2 separate regions of the Homo sapiens genome follow, and region 1 is linked to region 2. The links are contacts of gene promoters, found by promoter capture Hi-C in blood cells and fetal thymus (Javierre and others, 2016). All regions are on one chromosome and are shown on one strand. The core of a region is centred on a gene start or on the middle of the fragment in contact, and the rest is flanking DNA. Distances in the headings are between cores, read along the strand shown. Region 1 overlaps GOLGA7B (golgin A7 family member B). Region 2 holds the start of ZFYVE27 (zinc finger FYVE-type containing 27).

What was found. The method cuts DNA at HindIII sites, captures the fragments that hold promoters and counts their contacts. A CHiCAGO score of 5 or more calls a contact.
Region 1: a contact is called between a fragment that was not itself captured here and the fragment with the promoter of ZFYVE27 in region 2, in 7 of 17 cell types (M2 macrophages, naive CD4 T cells, non-activated CD4 T cells and 4 more). The highest score is 8.3, in M2 macrophages.

The regions. Positions count from the first base shown.
Region 1 is chr10:97,858,148-97,863,787 of GRCh38, reverse strand. GOLGA7B (golgin A7 family member B) reads right to left here. Exons shown (of 5, transcript NM_001010917.3): 2 at 4,205-4,330. Among named protein-coding and RNA genes, the nearest start is that of GOLGA7B, 11 kb to the right of the region's middle. The HindIII fragment of the contact is 2,741 bases long and covers 2,959-5,640 here.
Region 2 is chr10:97,733,149-97,738,399 of GRCh38, reverse strand. ZFYVE27 (zinc finger FYVE-type containing 27) reads right to left here and starts at 1,272. Exons shown (of 13, transcript NM_001385875.1): 1 at 1,079-1,272. RefSeq lists a silencer at 1,007-1,076 and an enhancer at 1,407-1,556. The HindIII fragment of the contact is 3,622 bases long and covers 1-1,942 here.

The DNA.
Region 1 (5,640 bases), core at 3,080-5,579, 120 kb before region 2:
CAGAGCCGAAAGAGCACTGGCCTGGGAGTCAGGAGACTGGGGGGGCCAGTCCAGACTTGGCCATCAACTAACTGGCTGAGTGACATTGAACTAGCAGCTTAACCATCTAGGCTTCAGTTTCCTCATCTATAAAATGGGAATAAGAATGGCTGCTTGTCCTCCCTTGGAAACAGGAAATTCCCATGATATCCTAGATGTTTTCTGCAGAAGATCAAACGAGTATTCTAGTGACTTTGACACGTCCCATCTTGCTGGTTGTGAGAGAGCTCAGGACTAGATTCATAGGGGCTCTCCATGTTTGGATGGGACTGCATGAGACTGCTTCAGTGAGACCTCAGGGGCATCTCTCCAGGAAGGGGCATTTCCTTCTAGCTCAGAGGTCACCCACAACACCACCACCCTGTGTGTTTGGACACCTGAGAAGCTGTCCTGCCCGTATCCATAATAGGAATGGCTAATATGTATTAAGCACTTTCTGTGTGCCAGGAAATGCACTCTTTCATTTAACTCTCAGAACAATTCTATCAGAAAAGTACTACTGCCATCCCCATTTTACAGGTGAGGACTGCTCTGTGGTCCTAAGACCACGCGGACCACGAACTGCTCTGTGGTTCCAGCTGCCACCGTCTCTGGCCCCTTCACTGGCCTCCCTGCCCCTGCTCCTGCCCTAACTTCCAGTTAAAGTCAGATTATGTCACAGCTGTGATCAAGAGCTCCCACAATCTTCCCATCTCTCTGCAAGTTAAATCCAAGAAGTCCTTACAATGCCCGCTAGGCCCTCCATGGCCCGACCCTGCTACCCCTGGGCCCGTCTCCTCCTCTCCTCTTCACTCAGTACCCCTGCTTCTTGAAATTTCCTCAGGCCCTTTGTGTCCATCTCCTTAGCTGCCACACTTTCCCCTGCAGGCTGCCGTGACACCCTTAACACCCTTGGGTCTCACCTTATTCAACAGCCTCCCCCTGTGCCCAGGATCATTCACCTCTCCCCAGCACACCCAACCCCCGTGACATCCTCCCCTTATTCTTCTAGTATTTGTTACCTCCTGAGTGAGGTATATTTACAGTTGACCCTGGAACAACATGGGTCTGAACTGTGTGGGTCCATGTATATGTGAATTTTCTTCTGACTCTGCCACCCCTGAGACAGCAAGATCCACCTGTCCTGTTCCTCCTCTTCCTCAGCCTACCCAACATGAAGATGACGAGGATGAAGACCTTTATGATGATCCACTTCCACTTAATGAGTAGTAAATATATTTTCTTCTCCTTATGATTTTCTTAACATTTTCTTTTCTCTAGCTTACTTTATTATAAGAATACAGTATATAATATACATAACATGCAAAATGTGTGTTAATAAACTGTTTGTATTAACAGAAGACTCCCAGTCAACAGTAGGCTACTAGTAGTTAAGTTTTTAGAAAGTCAAAGGTTATATCCAGATTTTTGACTGTGCAGGGGACAGGCACCCCTAACCCTGTGTTGTGCAAGGGTCAACTGTATTTGCTTGGTTTTTTATTTTCTACACCATCTAATAGAAAATAAATGCCATGAGTTTACTCCTATATCTCTAGAGACTAATACATAATCAATAAATACTTAGTGACTGCTAAGTAAACTTGTCCAAGGTTACAGCTCTGACTCCAGTCTGTGCTCTTCACTGTGTAACACCAGACAGCCGGGAAGGTCACATTCCAAACTCAGCAGGTGTCACAGTGTCAAAATAGTAGCCCTATTTTTCACATTCTTCACAGTACCTTCTTCCTCACTCATGCAGCAGGACCAGAAATGCTCATCACACAGTTTAGGGACCTCCCTGCCTCTCTAGGACAAAACCTCTGTCCAAGAATAGTTGGAAGCTTAGGAGTTCCCCCTACACAGACCTGGGGAGAACTCATAGAGAAAATCCTATGAAAATCCTGCCCATCTAGTCCATGCCACAAGCCCTGCTGCTCCACCCTGGGGGTCACCCCGCCCTAAAGGACAAGCATGCTAAGATGAGAAAGAGGCCCACATTCTCTCCGAAAGCTGGCTCCGGGTCATATCAGTACAGACCATCCCTGCCCCCACTTCCCAAACCCATTCAGATCTACCTGGGCTGCTGAGTGAAAGCTCAGGATCTGCCTTCTGGCTTCCCCAGTCCCAGGCCCACTCTAGGGCAGCCTAGGATGAAAGCTGAGGACACCCCTGGACCAGAAGCAAAACTCAGCAGCTGATGCCTCACAGCAGCCTGAGGTCCATGAGTCACCCAACTAGCTGAGTCTAGAGGCAGAGGCTGTAGGCAGAGCCCTTGGCTGACTGCCTTTTATGCCACCCAGCAGACTGTGGGATGGTGCATCTGGCTCTCCCCTTTGCCTGAGGCAAGGAGAAGGGAAAAGCAGCCTGCAGCTCTTCCTTTGAGTCTCTAAGCTTTCCCTGCGAGACTGTGATCATGAAGACATTTAGTTTGATCTGTACCCACAAAAGATGCAATTGTGTCAGCAAGAAAATAAGAGTCCTGTGAAAAAGCAGAGAGGCGGGGCACTTAAGCCTGTCTGGTACTTACTAACTCCCATAAGTCACTTCTTTCTGGCCCTCAGTTTCCTCTGTTAAATGAGAGGGATGGACTAGTGTGGAGCTTCTCAAAATTTCATGCATATCTGAATAACCCAAGGAATAGATTAAAACCCAGATTCGGATTCAGCAGATCCAGGGAGGGAGCTGAGATTCTGCATTTCTATCAAGCTCCCAGGTATTGTTGATATTGTTGATCCACAGGCCACAGTTTTAGTAACAAGGACTTAATGGTTCTCAGCTCCAGCTGCAAACTGAAATTATCTGAGCAGCCTTTAAACCCTATGATGCCCAAGTCTCCCCCACCAGGAGATTCTGAGTCAATGGTCTGGGAAGGGGGAGGATAGGTCAGAGCAGCAAAGATCACCACTGCCCTGCCCTACCCAAGCTGACGCCCTGCAAGCTTCCTTTTTCAAAGTTCCCAGGTGCCTCTAAGGTGTAGCCAAGGATGAGAAGCAGCGCTGTTTCTGAAGAAGACCAGCTGAACAAGACTAGCAATTCCAAGTGTAATCTATGAACCACTTGATTCTGATTCACCTGGGAATTCCTCATTAAAAATTAAGGCTTAAGACCTAGTATTTGGGCTGGGCATGGTGGCTCACACCTGTAATCCCAGCACTTTGGGAGGCCGAGGAGGGCGGATCACTTGAGCCCAGGAGTTTGAGACCAGCCTGGGCAACATGGCAAAACCCCGTCTCTACTAAAATTACAATAAATTAGCCAGGAGTAGTGGCACGAACCTGTAACCCCAGCTACCTGGGAGGCCGAGGCAGGAAGATCACCTTAGCTGGGAGACAGAGGCTGCAGGGAGCTGTGGTCACACCACTGCACTCCATCCTGGATTTCCATCAAGGGAAAAAAAAAAAGACCTAGTATTTGATAGCACAACAGGGTGACTATAGTCAATAATAATTTAATTGTACATTTTAAAATAACTAAAAGAGTATAACTGGATTGTTTGTAACAGATAAGATAAATGTCCGAAGTAATGGATGCCCCATTTACCCTGATGTGATTATTACACATGGCATGCTTGTATCAAAATATCTCATGTACCCCTGCTAGGTACCCACAAAATTATAAATAAATAAATACTAAAGTTTAAACAATCATGATTAAAATTCATTTCAAAATTAAGATTTAAAACTATGCTGATTCCAGAGTCCCACCCCTAGAGAGTCTAATGTAGTTGGTTTGGGCTGCAGTCTGAGCATCAGGATTTTTTAAGCTCCCCAGGAACCTCTAATGTACAGCCAAGGTTGAGAACAGCTGCTAATAAATGGAGACTCCTGAGCCACAGTCCAACAACTGGATCAGCACTGCTGGACAACACCTGTATCATCCAGTAGGACTCAGGAATTTCCATTTGTTTAACAAGCTCTCTATATCATTTTTAGGCAACTGAAACTTGAGAGCAGCCAGACCAGAAAATCCCTGAGATCCCTTCAGCTCTAATTTTCTATGAGGAGACAGTAAGACAATATTAAGAATCATCCTTTTGATTTTTTAAAATTCATCCTTTTGAAGTGGCCAAACATGTTACGTGTCCTATGATATTATGTGTCATAGGATCCTGGATAAAATACATTCCAATAAGAACCTCAGTTCCATCACAGCCCTGGGTTCCAAGTGCAGAAAAAGGCATCCTTACCCGGCTGTCCAGCTCTGGGGGGAATTTGGTCTGGAACTGACAGATGGTCCCATCGCTGTAGTCTCTCTGGATAAAGACCTTGGTGGCCAGTGAGGCACTTCGCCGGAGCTCCTGCAGATTGTGGACCTGAGGAGACGTGCGGGCGGCATGTGCTGAGAGTGACCATCCATCTCGGCATATCCCAAATGCAGGGGTTTCCCAGAATGCAGGTCTTCCAGCACTAACACCAGGAAAGTTCCCAGCATGCAGAGACAAGCTGGGCACTCTACAGGTGCTCCAAGAGGCCAAGGGAGGCAGGGCTGTGGGGTCTACCCAAGAAGCTGCCCTGAGCTATCCCAGAGAGATCTTTTAAAAGCCTAAAGCAAGGCTGGGTGCAGTGGCTTGTGCCTGTAATCCCAGCACTTTGGGAGGCTGAGGTGGGAGCATTGCTGGAGTCCAGGAGTTAAAGGCTGCAGTAAGTTGTGATTGCACCACTGCACTCCAGCCTGGGTGACAGAGCAAGACCCCAACTCTAAAAAAATTTTTAACAAGCCTAAAGCAGGGCCAAAGTTGAGTCTCTCTCGCACGTGCACGTGCACACACACACACACACAGAAGAACCTTTCATACTTTCATTCATTCACCAAGTACCAAGCGTTCACTTGTGAGACCCTGTGCCTGGGGAACCCAGCACTGAACAAGACCAGTGCTCCAGTCCTGCCAAGTGGAGCTCACAACAGAGTTGCAGGCAGGGAACATGTGGGACAGAGGAATACCTGAGGTACCCCTGAACTCAGAGACTGGGGTCCAGGCCGAGTTTTATGGCCCCGGCCAGAGAGCACCCCAGATGCTTTTCACATCCAGCACTTCTCACCACAGGAAACAAAGGGCCCATGAATGTCCAAACTTCTCCAGAGAATAGTGTAGATGAAATGGACAGAGGCCAGAAATGGAAGAAATAGCCTTCCCTGGCAGGAAGGAGAGGGGAGATATCTGTCCCTTGTGCACATCTGTGGACTTCACATTGACACAGACTCTAGTGTTTGAGGGGAATGGGCTCAATTCCACAGAACAAGCCCACTTTTTCCACCTCTCCAGCCTCAGTCACCCACATTCAAGACAAGCATCCCACTGGTTGAAATATGCCCAACACTGAGAACACGTGGAGACCAAGCCCCAAAGGCAGAGTGAACAACAGCCAGTTCATCCCATGTAATTAAGCTGGATCCATTCAGTCACTCAGCTCTCATTTATTGAGTCTCTCCTAGTGCCAAGCTCTGGGGGTGCTGAGCAAAAGAGTCTGTGAGCTCCAGGGAGGAAGACAAGTAAATATATAATGAATTAGACAGTGACAAATGCCACAGAGAAGTAACATCTTACCCAGAAATGCTCACTCAGAAAAGGCCTCCTGAAGCCTGTGTTGAGTCATAAAGGAAGTCCAGGGGTTACCAGTAGCA
Region 2 (5,251 bases), core at 23-2,522:
GCCAACAGTAAACCTGTGAGCAAGGGAAAGTGAACTATTCAGACCTAAAATCCTGTTCTTTGTACTCTCCATCCAATGCTCTTTTCCCCAAAGATCCATCAAAACTAAAAATCATAAAAACCAAGCATAAATGATCGCTGCAGCGAGGCAGCCCATGGGCTGAAATGAAATGATGTCCTGGAACATTTTTCTCCCACTCTTTACCTGGTTAATTCCTACTCATCCTTCAGGTATCAGCTTAAACATCACTCCCTTACTCTGGGAAGTCTCTGCCAACACCCCCAACTCTGGACTGGGAGACCCTCTCCGATGCTCCCAAAGGATCACGTACTCACCCTAACAGAGCACTTATCACATCACATCGCTTCTTGGCCTTGTGGCTAAGATCAAGTGCAGAGCACTGACCACGTCAAAGTAAAACTCCCTGCTCTTAACTGGCCTCCATTCACGACTGCTTCTGTACACAGTGGGTGCTTAACAAATGCCTGCTGAATGAGTGAATGAAATACCGTGCTCCAGGACTCTCGCCCGATCCTCTAACTCTTCCCACTCCCTTCGGTTCCCAACAACTTCCTGGGCCATCTCTGCCCCAGGGCAGTCGGCATCAGAACGCCCCATTCCCGTCTGCCCTTTCTGATGAGGAAACCGAGGAGCCTTTACGGTCTTTCCCAGTTCAAAGTCCTATCCTGAACTCTAAGCAGCAAACGAGGGGGCGGAACCTCGGCGAAGAGCAACATAAACCAGTCCCAGGCAATCAGCCGCGACCTGATGGGAGGGTGAGGGGATGGGACAAAGGGGCCAACGGGACCCCGAAATCCCCGCAGGCCGAGCCAAGGCGAAAGGGCACAGAGCGGCGCCAGGTATGAGCCCAGGAAGGGGCGAGGTATATCGACGCCCGCACTGGCCTTGGCCAACACCTCTGCAGCCAGGGGGGCCTGATGGAGCCCGTGAGGCTGGACAGGGAAGGCCATGCCCGAGGTCGTGGGGCCAGCATGTGGCGGCCCCCGCTGCGCCCAAGCACCCAACTACACACAGCCTGCGGAGACACTGGGACGCGGGGGGACGGCACCTCACCTACCCGGCCGCTGGCTCCGTGAGGGAGGCGGCAGGGTCGGGCAGGAGCAGGGGTAGAGCCACTGGGCCCCGGAGCGTTTCTTCAGGCCTCCCCCGGCTGAACGCCGCTCCTCCTGCCAGGGTTGTTCGGAAGTCGCAGGTCCGAAAATCTCCTCCGCCTACGCCGCGGCCGCCACCGCCGCTTCCGGGACGCGAATCGCTCTGCGGCTGCGTCCTCATGACGTCATCCCGCTCCGGGTTTAGCTCCGCCCACCCCAGCACAGGCAAGCACCCTTGCCAGCAGTGCGCCTGCGCGTCTTTCCCGCGCGCTCCAGGCTGGAGTTAATTCTGTCCTTGGCCGGCCGCCGTTCACAAAGCCTTGAGGACCCTTGGAAGCACGTGCTTGGCGACCCTGCAGCTCGTTGCCCTGCCTTGCCGCAGGGAACAGTTGGCGAGAGGCTTAAATGAAGAATTTACGTCTTCATCCTCTTTCCTTCCAACTTTGGAACTGAACTGGGGACTGTGTGTGAGCCCCGGAAAGACACCGTATCCTGTATGAGATGCCCAGCAGAGCATGCAGTTGTTTCCGGAGTAGCTAGTGTGTACAAGGTCCTGTGCAGGCCTCTCCCAGCTCAGTTCACTTCACACCGTGTGGCCCAGTTAATTTCCCTTAAAGCACACATCCGATGGCTTTATATTAGTGACTTAGCGCTCAGGTACAGAGGAGCCAAGCACTGAACCGGACTGAGCTCTTTTTAGACATTATCTAGTTCTCCTCCAACGACCCTATTAGGGTTGTCGCCATTTTACAGATGGGGAATCTCAGACGTGTTAAGGAACTTCTTTAGAGTCACAGCTAAGAAGCAAATGGGAGCTGGAATTTGAAGCTTATGTGTCATCTGACCCCAACGCCCCAACCATACCACCACCCACCTTGGTCTGCATTTCCTGGTCTTGTCTCCTGCCATCTTTCAGCTGCCTTTAACTTTGGCCAACTGAACCCCTCCACTGTTACCCTCAAATGCCCCTGGCACTCAAATGTCTGTATCCCTTCCTTGAGTGCCCCAGCTGGAAGTAATCACTTCCCTCTTCAAGTAGCCACAGAGCTTTAACTGCATCTCTTCCTCCATTATCTCCTTTCAGAAAGACAGGCCCATCCCTCCAGCCAGGACTTAGCTGTGCTCCAGGGTCCAACTCTTATTTCCTTAGGGCTTTGCTCTAACAGGCCTGAAATCTTGACTCTCGCTAACTCTTAATCATCATTCTAGAGACAAAATTCATGGAAAATTTCTCCTTTAGCCTAACTTTACCCCCTCTTTCCTACATGAGTTGGAAGACTCACTGTGAAGTGCTCTCTACCGCTGCTTCCTCGCCCAATTCACTCCTCACTGCACTGTGGTCCTGCTCCCCTCCATATTTCTGGGCTACCTGCCTGCTCACCTGTGACATCCTGGCTGCTAAATCCAATGGACACTTCCCAGTCCTCCTTGCAGATGACCTCAGAAGCACTGGAATCTCTTTCCTTTTTGGCACCATTGTCCACCTTAGCTTCCATGACACCACCCTCTCCTCTCTTTCCGACCTTCAAGGTCTCCTTAGGGCTTTTCTTCCTACCCCTCAAATGCTGGGGCTCCTTTTGCTACCCTTCTTTCTTCTGACTCAAGGCACTCCGTGAGGATCTCATTCACTCTTGTGGCTTCTGTCAGCTAATGTTTCGTTTCCCGTGTCTATGTCTCCAGCACCTAAAGCAGTACCTGGCACATAGTAGGCATTCTGTTAAGAAGGGTTGCAAGATGTTACCATTGGGGGGTAGTCTGTGGGATCACCCTGTGTTAGTTCTTATAACTATGTATAAATTGACGATTGTCCCAAAAGTAAATGCTTACCCTGTGTAGGTATTTTTCTCAAAGCTCCCTGCTTTAGTTGACTTTGTCAATTACCCGGCATGCGCCAGTCCCAACATAAGTAAGGTAGGAGGGCTTCTCCTCAGATGAATTGCTTGGTTGGTTTTTCCAGCTGTAAAATGGGGATAACCATAGTGGTACCCTCAGTGTGGGGCTGTGATGAGAATTAAATGAGCTAAAGTATGTAAATTCCTGACATGTTATAAGTGTTCAAAAATCGTTAGCAATCATTGTGATTTTTATTTTTACTCAAAGCCCTACCACCACCACCCCTAGCCCAAAAATCAGACAAGAATCCACGAAAGGCCAAAATGTAGAAAGATCCAATTCCCACACATATCACTAAGCCATATACAGAAATCCACTCACCACCCCTTAGAGAAATGGACTGAGCTTTGTGGTGGTCCAGGCCCATCTGCTGGACTCTGCCTCTCCTCCCTTAGGATGGGTCTTTTCCCCGAAAGCTCCTGGGTCTGTCATGCAGATAGCCTCTGAAGGCCCCTCTTCTTCGTTTCCTAACCTGGCCTCAGGTCTGAATTCCAGGATAGGCCATCGCCACTCCCCACCCACTCCCATCCCCCACCCTGTCCACCCCTCTGTACCTTTCTCAGACCACTCTCTTGGTGGATAGTTTCAGTGGCCCCCTGTGACCTCCAGGATAAAACCAAAGCCTGGTGTATTCAACTCTGGCAGTTCTCGGATATGTCACACCTTCTCCCATTACTGTACCTTTCTACAGACTACTCTCACCTTTTTTTTTTTTTTTTTTTTGAGATAGAGTTTTGCTCTTGTTGCGCAGGCTGGAGTGCAATGGAGAAATCTTGGCTCACTGCAACTTTTGCCTCCCAGGTTCAAGCGATTCTTCCGCCTCAGCCTCCTAAGTAGCTGGAATTACAGGCATGCACCACCATGCCTGGCTAATTTTTTGTATTTAGTAGAGATGGGGTTTCACCATGTTGGCTAGACTGGTCTCAAACTCCTTACCTCAGGTGATCCACCTGCCTCGACCTCCCAAAGCGCTGGGATTACAGACGTGAGCCACTGCGCCCCATATTCTTTAGTTGGCCAGCTCTTATTCTTCCTCCAAAATTCAGCTCAGATCTCACCCCTGAAGAAAGACTTCTCTGACACCTTCCCCATCAGCAGCCACTGTCTGGATTACGTGCCCTTCTGACTTGGCTCCGTGGGCCTGCCCCACCCCAGCACTTGGTGCCTCCTCCTCTCTCTAGACAGTGAGAGTCCTGAGGGAACTGCCTATAATTTCTGTGTCCAGCATCTAGCACAAAGGAGGTACCAACAAATGTTCCTTGAATGAGCGCATGCGTGTCAGTTTCCTCTTGGAGCACAGAATTCACATCTCTTTCAACAAAAGCCCCAGAACAATGCCCATTTCTTTTTTCTTTTTCTTATCTTTCTTTCCTTTTTTAATGTAATTTTATTTTATTTTTGAGATAGGGTCTTCTGCTGCTGCCCAGGCTGCAGTGCAATGGTGCAATCATAGCTCACTCTAATTCCTGGGCTCAAACAATCCTCCTGCCTCAGCCTCCAGAGGAGCTGGGACTACAGGTGCACACCACTAACACCTAGCTACTTAATTTTTATTTTTATTTTTTTTTGAAACGGAGTCTCACTCTGTCATCAGGCTGGAGTGCAGTGGCACGATCTTGGCTCACTGCAAGCTCCGCCTCCCGGATTCAAGCGATTCTCCTGCCTCAGCCTCCCGAGTAGCTGGGACTACAGGTGCACACCACCACGCCCAGCTAATTTTTGTATTTTTAGTAGAGACGGGGTTTCACCATGTTGGCCAGGATGGTCTCGATCTCTTGAGCTCGTGATCTGCCTGCCTCAGCCTCCCAAAGTGCTGGGATTACAGGTGTGAGCTACCGTGCCTGGCCAATTTTTTTTTTTTTTTTTTTTTTGTAGAATGAGGTGTTGCTATGTTGCCCAGGCTGGTCATGAATCATTTCTTAAAACAATGACTGTGAAACCAGCAAGAATGAACTGGACAGAAATTCTACCCTCTATGAACTCTTAGTTCAACAGAAGACGCTGACTTGACTGAGCCATGATATAAAGCAGGGGATTCTACTGTAACCGTAGGAGCAGAGAGAAGAGGCAGACTTAATCTAAGTGAGAGGATGGGGAAAGTTTTGTGTTCAACAATGTAGTATTTAAGCTAAGGAGTCCCCACCCTTCTTAAGAAAAATAAATTTTTTTCTTTAATAACCTAAGTACCGGTCAGGCACAGTGGCTCACACGTGTAATCCCAGCACTTTGAGAGGCTGAGGCGGGCA